Linked DNA regions of Homo sapiens: region 1 is linked to region 2. Evidence: promoter capture Hi-C in 16 types of primary human blood cells and fetal thymus (Javierre and others, 2016). All regions are on one chromosome and are shown on one strand. The core of a region is centred on a gene start or on the middle of the fragment in contact, and the rest is flanking DNA. Distances in the headings are between cores, read along the strand shown.

Evidence for each region. Contacts are between HindIII fragments. The CHiCAGO score rates a contact against its expected background, and 5 or more counts as called.
Region 1: the fragment with the promoter of INIP here is called in contact with the fragment with the promoter of DNAJC25 in region 2 in 2 of 17 cell types (fetal thymus and naive CD4 T cells); the score reaches 6.6 in fetal thymus.

The regions. Positions count from the first base shown.
Region 1 is chr9:112,715,941-112,720,172 of GRCh38, reverse strand. INIP (INTS3 and NABP interacting protein) reads left to right here and starts at 2,056. Exons shown (of 5, transcript NM_021218.3): 1 at 2,056-2,186; 2 at 3,632-3,712. The coding sequence starts at 3,688. RefSeq lists a silencer at 1,845-2,004 and an enhancer at 2,375-2,474. The HindIII fragment of the contact is 2,113 bases long and covers 521-2,633 here.
Region 2 is chr9:111,628,655-111,632,895 of GRCh38, reverse strand. It overlaps DNAJC25 (DnaJ heat shock protein family (Hsp40) member C25), which reads right to left and starts at 1,562. Exons shown (of 4, transcript NM_001015882.3): 1 at 1,153-1,562. The coding sequence starts at 1,488. DNAJC25-GNG10 (DNAJC25-GNG10 readthrough) reads right to left here and starts at 1,562. Exons shown (of 3, transcript NM_004125.4): 1 at 1,153-1,562. The coding sequence starts at 1,488. LOC107987116 (a long non-coding RNA gene) reads left to right here and starts at 1,693. Exons shown (of 2, transcript XR_001746897.2): 1 at 1,693-1,856. RefSeq lists enhancers at 829-878, 1,609-1,698 and a silencer at 1,229-1,518. The HindIII fragment of the contact is 9,325 bases long and covers 1-3,261 here.

The DNA of each region.
Region 1 (4,232 bases), core at 807-3,306, 1.1 Mb before region 2:
GATTACAGGCATGAGCCACCACACCCAGGCTCAGCTGATCTACTGACCACTTGCCAAGACACCCAGTAAAACAGATTGTTCATTGTTTATATTCTAATAGTCAACATTTATTGAGTTCTTATTATGTGCCAGGTGCTATTCTAAGTGATTTACGTATACCCAATCACTTATTTTTATTCCCATTTTATAGATGACAAAACAGAGGCACCAAAAGGTTAAACCAGGGCTCACCATCATTAAGTGGCAAAGCTCGAATTTGCATTCAAGTAAACTGACTCACTATTAACCACTGTGTTAGAGGTTAACACAATGAGGCAGAAGTTCCAAAAACTCTAGGAGAAGACAGAAGGGTTTCAAGGGCTATGACCTACCAAGTAAAAGGCAAAAGAATTGGCAGCAAGTTAAATTTATCTTTCTCCTGATAATGTTCTTTCAACTCTCAGAGGCTGAATTTGCTAAGAAATTATAAAATGTTGTTTAGGGTTAGAACTGTTTTTACTCCCACCTCCTTAAATAAGCTTTGTTCAGAATGTCCATTTGAAACTTAGACTGGAACTTTCTGTGCCCTAGTTTCTATATTAGCTAGGCCACAAAACAAAAAAAAATTCTAAGGTTCTATCAGCCATATAGATCTCAGTCATCTTTTTAGTCATACTAGAACTCACCAAGTCCTCTTAACTGAAAGGACTCCTGGCCTACCATCAAAATGCTCATGTGTTAGGCTTTATATCTGGATTAAAGTCAAGTCAGCAAGAACTGGTCTCAGAGGAATTCATTCCTCCAGAGCAGAGGCAATGTGTGAGATTTAAGAACTCAGGCCTTAGCATCTGGCAGATCTTTAAATTTGAATCTTAGCTCGCTACTTGACATAGAGCAAGAAACATGAGTCTCAAATATAAATCAGGGAACAGCAGGACCAGAGCTGATGCACAGGAAGCACCTCGCATTGTAGAAGGCACTCAATAGCTGCTTGGTATAGAGTAAATACATGCTTGGTTTTCAGTAAATAAATACTTGATATTGAAACGATTATTTCAGTCATTGATCCATGCACAAGAAAATTGTGCATCATAAACATTTTACTCTTGAGCAAACATCAATTATTAAAAACATATGTTCAAATTCATTATCCATTCTATTTAATTAAATGCTTGAGGCGCTTGGGGAGCTTACATTTGTGATTTAAGTCTGTGCGTTTTTCAAATGTATCTTTCGGAAGAGATTAAGACACTGCAATTTTAAGCAGGGCAGGTGGCTCACGCCTGTAATCCCAGCACTTTGGGAGGCTGAGGTGGGCAGATCCCTTGAGGCCAGGAGTTCAAGACCAGCCTGGGCAACAAAGCGAGACACTGTCACCATAAAAAATATTTTTTTAAATTAAAAAGAGTGCAATTTGAACACATGTCAATATACGATTACCTTTTAATTCAAATGTGTAGCTATCTACTGTGCTGGAATCAGGTGGGCAGCAGGTGATCCCACTAGTGGCAACTTGGTGTTCTGCGATGTGGCACATCCACTTCTTAAATGCAGATTATTGCACTGTAATAAAAATCCTCCATATTCAGTGCTTTCATTGTGTATAATTATGTAAACTGTAGACAAAAAATATTCCTGAATTTGTGTGTGTGTGTGTGTGTGTGTGTGTGTGTGTGCGGATGCGCAATCCGAGATGGTTGTTAAAGCTCGAAAGCGAGTTTAGCTTCTAGAGTCGCCCCTCCTCCGAGGCCCAGCCGAGGTGGACTCGCACCGTCGCAAGACCGGCCAGGCGGTGGCAATGAATAAAAAGCCAGTCTTGGTGCTAGGGACCCAGGTGTTCTCCGTCCCGCCCCTGCCTGGCAGCCCCGCCCCTCCCCCGCCCCGGGCCACGCCCCACCCTGGCCCAGCCCCCAAAAGTACCGTTTGCATCTCCCGTGAGCCTCTTCGACTGTCACTCTTTGGAAAAAAAAGTGACGTCTGCACTGAGGTGGCCGCTAAAGTGCGAATCACGACGGGCGGTGGCCGTTGGGTCCCGGCGGGAGGCGGGGTTTCCGCTCCCTGGGGCGCACGTCAGTCAGGAGGCGGAAGCGCAGCGGGGGCGGGAAGGTTGTAGTGCCGCGAGTTGAGCTCCTCTTGCCTAAGTGGTCGCGCCCCCTTTAAGAGCAGCGATTGTAAGGAGAGGCGGTCCCGGTGTCCTCGGGTCCCAGGTAAGTACGACAGTCTGGAGGCACCGGGCAATAGAAAAGTGTGGCTCCGGTGCTAACCTGTCGCCGCCGTCTTTGTTGCTACAGGCAGCGACCTCCCTTCCGACCTTGCCACCTAACATTTCTGGCTCCTACTTGCTTCCTTCGTCTCGTTCACAGCCCGGGCCCAGCCGGCTCTGCACATCCGTAGGCAGGGACCTTTCTGGCACGCCAGTCTACCCTGTCACAAGATGGCCCTGTTGTCCTCCAGTCCTAACCCCGCATTGCTCGCTCTGTGTTTCAGCCGCTGGAGACACCTAACGATTCATTTACTAAAAACCGGTGTCTGTTTTCTATCCCTTGTGTCTTTCCCGGGCTCCCTAGACTAAGGCATCACTCTTTGCTGCCAATGAAATCAATTCTTTGCCTCCGGCACTGTGCCCACCTTTTAAAGAGCGGGTTTGTTAAGCTTTTTTTTTTTTTAATTAATAGTATGGTTGCTTGAATAAGACTTTATTTTCCCTTCTGAAAGCAGGATTAGGGTCTTGCTCATCTTGGATCTCCCCAGGATTTAGTACGAAAGCACGAAGTTTGGAAACCAGCAGCCCAAATAATTCCTACTAGCTCTATGACCCTGGGTACGGTTTCCTCATCTATAAAATGGTGATAAATAAATAAAGGAACTAATTTCGAGCATGTTACACAGTGTATGGTGCAGAGCAGATACAGTACTCCTTTACCTTTTTTAGCTTTCAGTGTACACAGTAGTTTTTGGGTATGTGTTTTAGACGAATGCAGAGACACCATAGATGAATGATTTTTCTTCCTAGCACCATGATTATATTGACTCTATCAATTGGTTGATATATTTGGTAAATACAACCTAATGACGTTTATTAAAGACAGTAATGCTAAATGGTATGAACATCTGCAAGAATAAACAATGCCGTATTTAATTAAATGCTTGAGGCACTAGCAGAGTTTACATTTGTTTCAGTCTGTGTACATTTCAAATGTATCTTTCTTTCTTTTCTTTTTTTTTTTTTTTGAGACCGAGTCTCGCTGTCTCGCTCTGTGGCCCAAACTGGAGTGCAGTGGCGCGATCTCGGCTCACTGCAACCTCCGCCACCCGGGTTCAAGTGATTCTCCCGTCTCGCCCTCCCGAGTAGCTGGGACTGCAGGCGCTTGCCACCACACCCGGCTGATTTTTTTTTTTAATTTTATTTTTAGTAGAGACTGGGTTTCACCATGTTAGCCAGGATGGTCTCGATCTGCTGACCTCGTGATCCGCCCGCCTCGGCCTCCCAAAGTGCTGGGATTACAGGCGTGAGCCACCGCGCCCGGCACAAATGTATCTTTCTGAAGAGATTAAGAAACAGCAAACATTTCATTGTAAGGAGGCTAGCTGTTCCTTTTAGTTTGTGATTAAAATATGGTGCATTGTATATGTGTGTACACATATTTTATAGGTGATTGTGAAGTGCTGACCAATTGCCACTGGACATACTTGAAACAAAATAGGAAAATGGCAGCAAACTCTTCAGGACAAGGTAATGACAGCAGGAATTTCTTTACTATGAACATTTCCCCAATATAGTAAATGTATTTGAATAAGAGAAAATTTAGCATAGGGCAGTTACTGTAGCCAGAATTTAAAAAATGAATAGCAGGCCGGGAGCGGTGGCTCACGCCTGTAATCCCAGTACTTTGGGAGGCCAAGTCGGGTGGACTGCTTGAGGTCAGGAACCCCGTCTCTACTAAAATACAAAAATTAGCTGGGCATGGTGGCGGGCACCTGTAATCCCAGCTACTAGGGAGGCTGAGGCAGGAGAATTTCTTGAACCCAGGAGGCGGAGGTTGCAGTGAGCCGAGATTGCACCACTGCACTGCAGCCTGGGCGACAGAGTGAGACTCCGTCTCAAAAAAAAGAAAAAGAAAAAAAGAAGAACATCAAAGTAAAACTCTAAATTTGAAATACACTTGTGCTGAATAATGATGTTTAGGTCAATGACAGACTGCTTATAGGATGGTGGTCCCATAAGATGGTAATGGAGCTGAAAAATTTCAATC
Region 2 (4,241 bases), core at 313-2,812:
CCCTCCACCACTCATTTTATGACTCCAAATTATCCAAACTGCTCTGGAAGGCATCAATAAAGTTGTTAGCTCCTTGACTATTTTCAGCTCTGGAAAAACAATCTGGAGGAACAATCCAAGGTAAAATTATATCCACTCAAAGTACAATCATTAAAAGCAGGCTACCTGGCAACATAGAAAATTTTGCCTCGGGAAAAAAAAAAAAAGGCTAGAAAAGAAATACTTTACAACTACAATCGCTGACGCATTAGTATGATGGGGCCCTTCAAGCAGTAATACCACCATCAAGTACGATTTATACTTCGTGATGTCCTAGATGGTTTGATTTTTTGCAGTAGTAGAAGAAAACAGCATCGGGCTAAATCTCTCATCCCCACAAGACTCAATAAAACCTGTCAAATGAAATACAAATACATATTCACAAAATATTTCCTACTAGAAATTCTCAGAGTTTTGTACCCAAGTCATTAAGCACCTATTTATGGATCCTATGGAAAGGGGGGCGGTTCGCACACTTATCATTTAATCCCCATAATAACTCTGAGAGGAGGTATCATGGCCTTAATTTTGCATATGAAGAAACAGCTATTTCAACATAATAAGTCACTATCCAAGGTCATACAGGGGTGTCACAGCAAAGACTCACATCCAGCCTTTTGACTGGTGTTCATTGTTCTTCTCAGTGTTTTCTTAGTTCCTTAAACCCAAACTAAGCGTCACCATTAACACTATTTCCAGAAACCAATTTTCTGTCATATCAAACTGATGCGATCACAGTTGTCACTTGATATTCGAGACTTTCCCTGTTGTGGGCTACCCCAGATCCTACTAATAATGATCACCCTGCTTTTCGAATGTGAAATGCACGTTATTAAAATATTTTCACGAAATCGTAAGATGGCCAAAGTTTTGCATAACAATGTCACAAAAAGGAAGAGGGCAAGGAGGCTAGCTGTGCCCCCCAAGGCCCCGTGGGGCCGACTCGGCTCTTTCACAGGGCCACGTGGGAAACGTGAGTATCTTAAAGGTCGCGGTGGTGGCTGTGCTCAGTTTCGGGGTCACAGAGGCCCACGCTCCGCGGACCGGGGTCGGAAGGCGCCGTGGGCTTCCCGCGGCCAGTCTTCGAAGCCCCTCCACGCCCGCAGGCCTCACCTTGAGTGTCTCGTAGGCGGTTGCCACCAGCAGGAAAGCCTCCTCGGCGCTCTGCGGCGTCCGCCCGGGGCCCTCGTCTCCGGGCTGGGGCCGGTAGCGGTCAGGGTGGTAGCGCCGGGCCAGCTGGCGGTAGGCCCGCGCGATCTCCGCCTTGCCCGCCGAGCGGCTCACGCCCAGCACCTCGTAGCAGTCCCGCGTGCCGCAGTAGAGCCCCTCCACCAGGGCCCCCGCGGGCCGCACCAGCAGCAGCGCCGGCAGCAGGGGCGCCAGCAGCATCCACCAGCGCCGGCCGGCAGCCCCGGCTCCCCAGCCGGGAGAGAGCAGCGGCGCCCCCATCCCCAGCCTCGCTGGCGGCTCTGCCACCCCAGCGATTCTGCAGCACTCAGCCGCGCGCCCGGCTAGTCCCGTCTGGCCCCAGCTACACGTCAGCAGCCGACGCCTCCGCGCAGGCGCACAGGGCGCGGCTACAGCAACTACTTCCTTCGCAACCCGTTGGTAGGGAGAAGGACGCCTCAGCCACTAGGCTGCTTCCGGTGTGTCACTGAACACCTTCCCCGTACCAGCAGCTGGAGGATTTGTTTGGTAGCACCTGGGGGATGGCTCTGTCCCGGGCGCACTTAGGCGGGCTGTGCGGAGCGCTTTACCTTCCACAGTGTCCGGCACACGCATCCTTTTCGACATCATCACTTGACCTGCTGCAATAGGTAACCTACCTGGCTCTCTCGCATCCCGTTATCAGCGTCAAGAAGATTTGCACGTAGGCCTTTAAAGCCAGCCACCAGCCCCGGGCGCCTTCCTCTCACTAACCCCATGCTGCCTTTCCAAACGGAAGATGAACTTAGCAATTCTAGGCGCTGCCTGTGTACTAGGTAGGGACCCTGAAAGTTCATAGCCATCTAGTTCAGTTTTTCTCAGCCTCCACGCTATTGACATTTTAGACCAGATAATTCTTTGCCTTTGAGGGGCTGCCCTTTGCATTGTAAGATGTTTAGCAGCATATCTGGCCTCTCCACACTAAATGCCAGTAGTGCCACCACCCCCAGTCATGACAATAAAAAATCTCTGTACGCGGGTCTGTGCGTCCACCTTGGGCTGCGCGTTCCCGGGACAACCTGCTGGAAGGATCAAGCGATCCTTCCAAAATGCTAGGATTACAGGCGTGAGCCACCGTGCCCGGCCTACATTTGAATTTCAGATAATAATTTTTTAGTATAAGTATGTCCAAAATATTGCATGGGACTATATGGCAACATGAAAAACTTTGCCTCAAAAAATCTGTTTCTATCATTCATCTGGTAAATGTTTATTGAGTCTCTACTCTGAGCCGGGCACTGTTACTTAGGCACTGGGGATACAGTGGTGAGCAAAGTAAACAAGAAGCTCAACTTCAGAGAGCATATATTCTGATGGAGGATGACAGTCAGTAACAAATAAATAAACGTTCAGATATAATCAACTCTTTTAATAAAGTGAAATCAAATACTGATACATAGCATTATATACTTATAATACATAATGAATATACATTATAATTTTGTATTTCTCATTGAATAAATATATATCTCTCATTACATATATCTCCCTCATTACATATATAATATATATAATCTCATTACACATATATGTCTCTGTCATTACATATATAACATATATGTGTCTATTTTTCACCTCAGCCCACTAAATATTGCATGGGACTATATAGCAACATATACAGTTATATATGTAATGAGAGAGATACATGTATATGTAATGAGATACAAAAGTTATATATATAATAACAATTTTGTGTATCATATATGCTTATTTACATTTGTATCTCATATATGTTTATATATGCTTATATATGGCTTATATATATGCTTATATATATATATAATGAGAAAGATAAAATGAATGGAAACACATGGGAGGGTCTCCTGAAATTATTAGGATCGGGATCAATTACAAGCATCAATTCCAGTAGGAGCTGACAGCTAAACTGACTTTGGAGGACGAATAGAGAATGGCTTGAAGGATGTGAATTAGAGAGGAGTTTGGGGACAAGGGAGTGTGAAATAAGTACCAAGAAGAGAAACGAGCCATGGGCAAGAAAAAAATAATAATAAAGCTTTTCAAAAAATGAAAGACAACCTATATGACTAGGAGTAGAGGTAAGGAGTGTAGGAGATGAAACTGGAGAAAGCCAAGTTGCAAAGGGTCATTTTATCCCATGTCAAAGAAGTTGTTCCTTATCTTAAGAGCAATGGAAAGGCCAATATGGGGTCTTTGAGCAAAAAGTGACACCTTCGGATTGACATTTCAGAACCATTACTCTGCCTGGGAAAATGAGTTGGGATGTATCAGGAAGACCATTAGGAGACAGTTATGAGTCCAAGTAGCCTGTAATCCCAGCACTTTGGGAGGCCGAAGTGGGTGGATCATCTGAGGTCAGGAGTTCAAGACCAGCCTAGCCAACATGGTGAAACCCCATCTCTACTAAAAACACAAAAATTAGCCAGGCATGGTGGCAGGCACCTGTAATCCCAGCTACTCAGGAGGCTGAGCCTGGGAGAATTGCTTGAACCCAGGAGGCAGAGGTTGCAGTGAGCCGAGATCACACCATTGCACTCCAGCCTGGGCGACAGAGCAAGACTCTGTCTCAAAGGAAAAAAAAAAAAAAAAGTCCAAGTAACAGATGCTACAGGTCTATTTCTAGGTAGTGGCTCTGGGAAAGGAAAAGAAATAGAAAAAAGTTAAAATATATTTATGCAGCAAAATGGACAGTATTTAGTCGTTGGCTCTGGAAGAGTGAAGGAGATGAGTGAGTCATGATAATGCCCAGGTTCCCAGTTTGGGCAACCAGGTACCACTCTGGAAACAGGGAACACAGAAGTAAAGTAGACTTATGGAGTAGAATGGGGCATTTGCTTGAAACATGTTGTGTTGTAGATGCCAACCATCTCCACATTGGATCATGTCGTTTCCAAATTTGAAACCTTTGAGGATTCTCATTGACCCTTGCCTCCCGTGAGGCCTTTCAGATATGCAGCTTACCCAGTCCATTTCCTCCATGCAAGCTCCTCTTATAGATGCTCACTGCTACTTGTTCA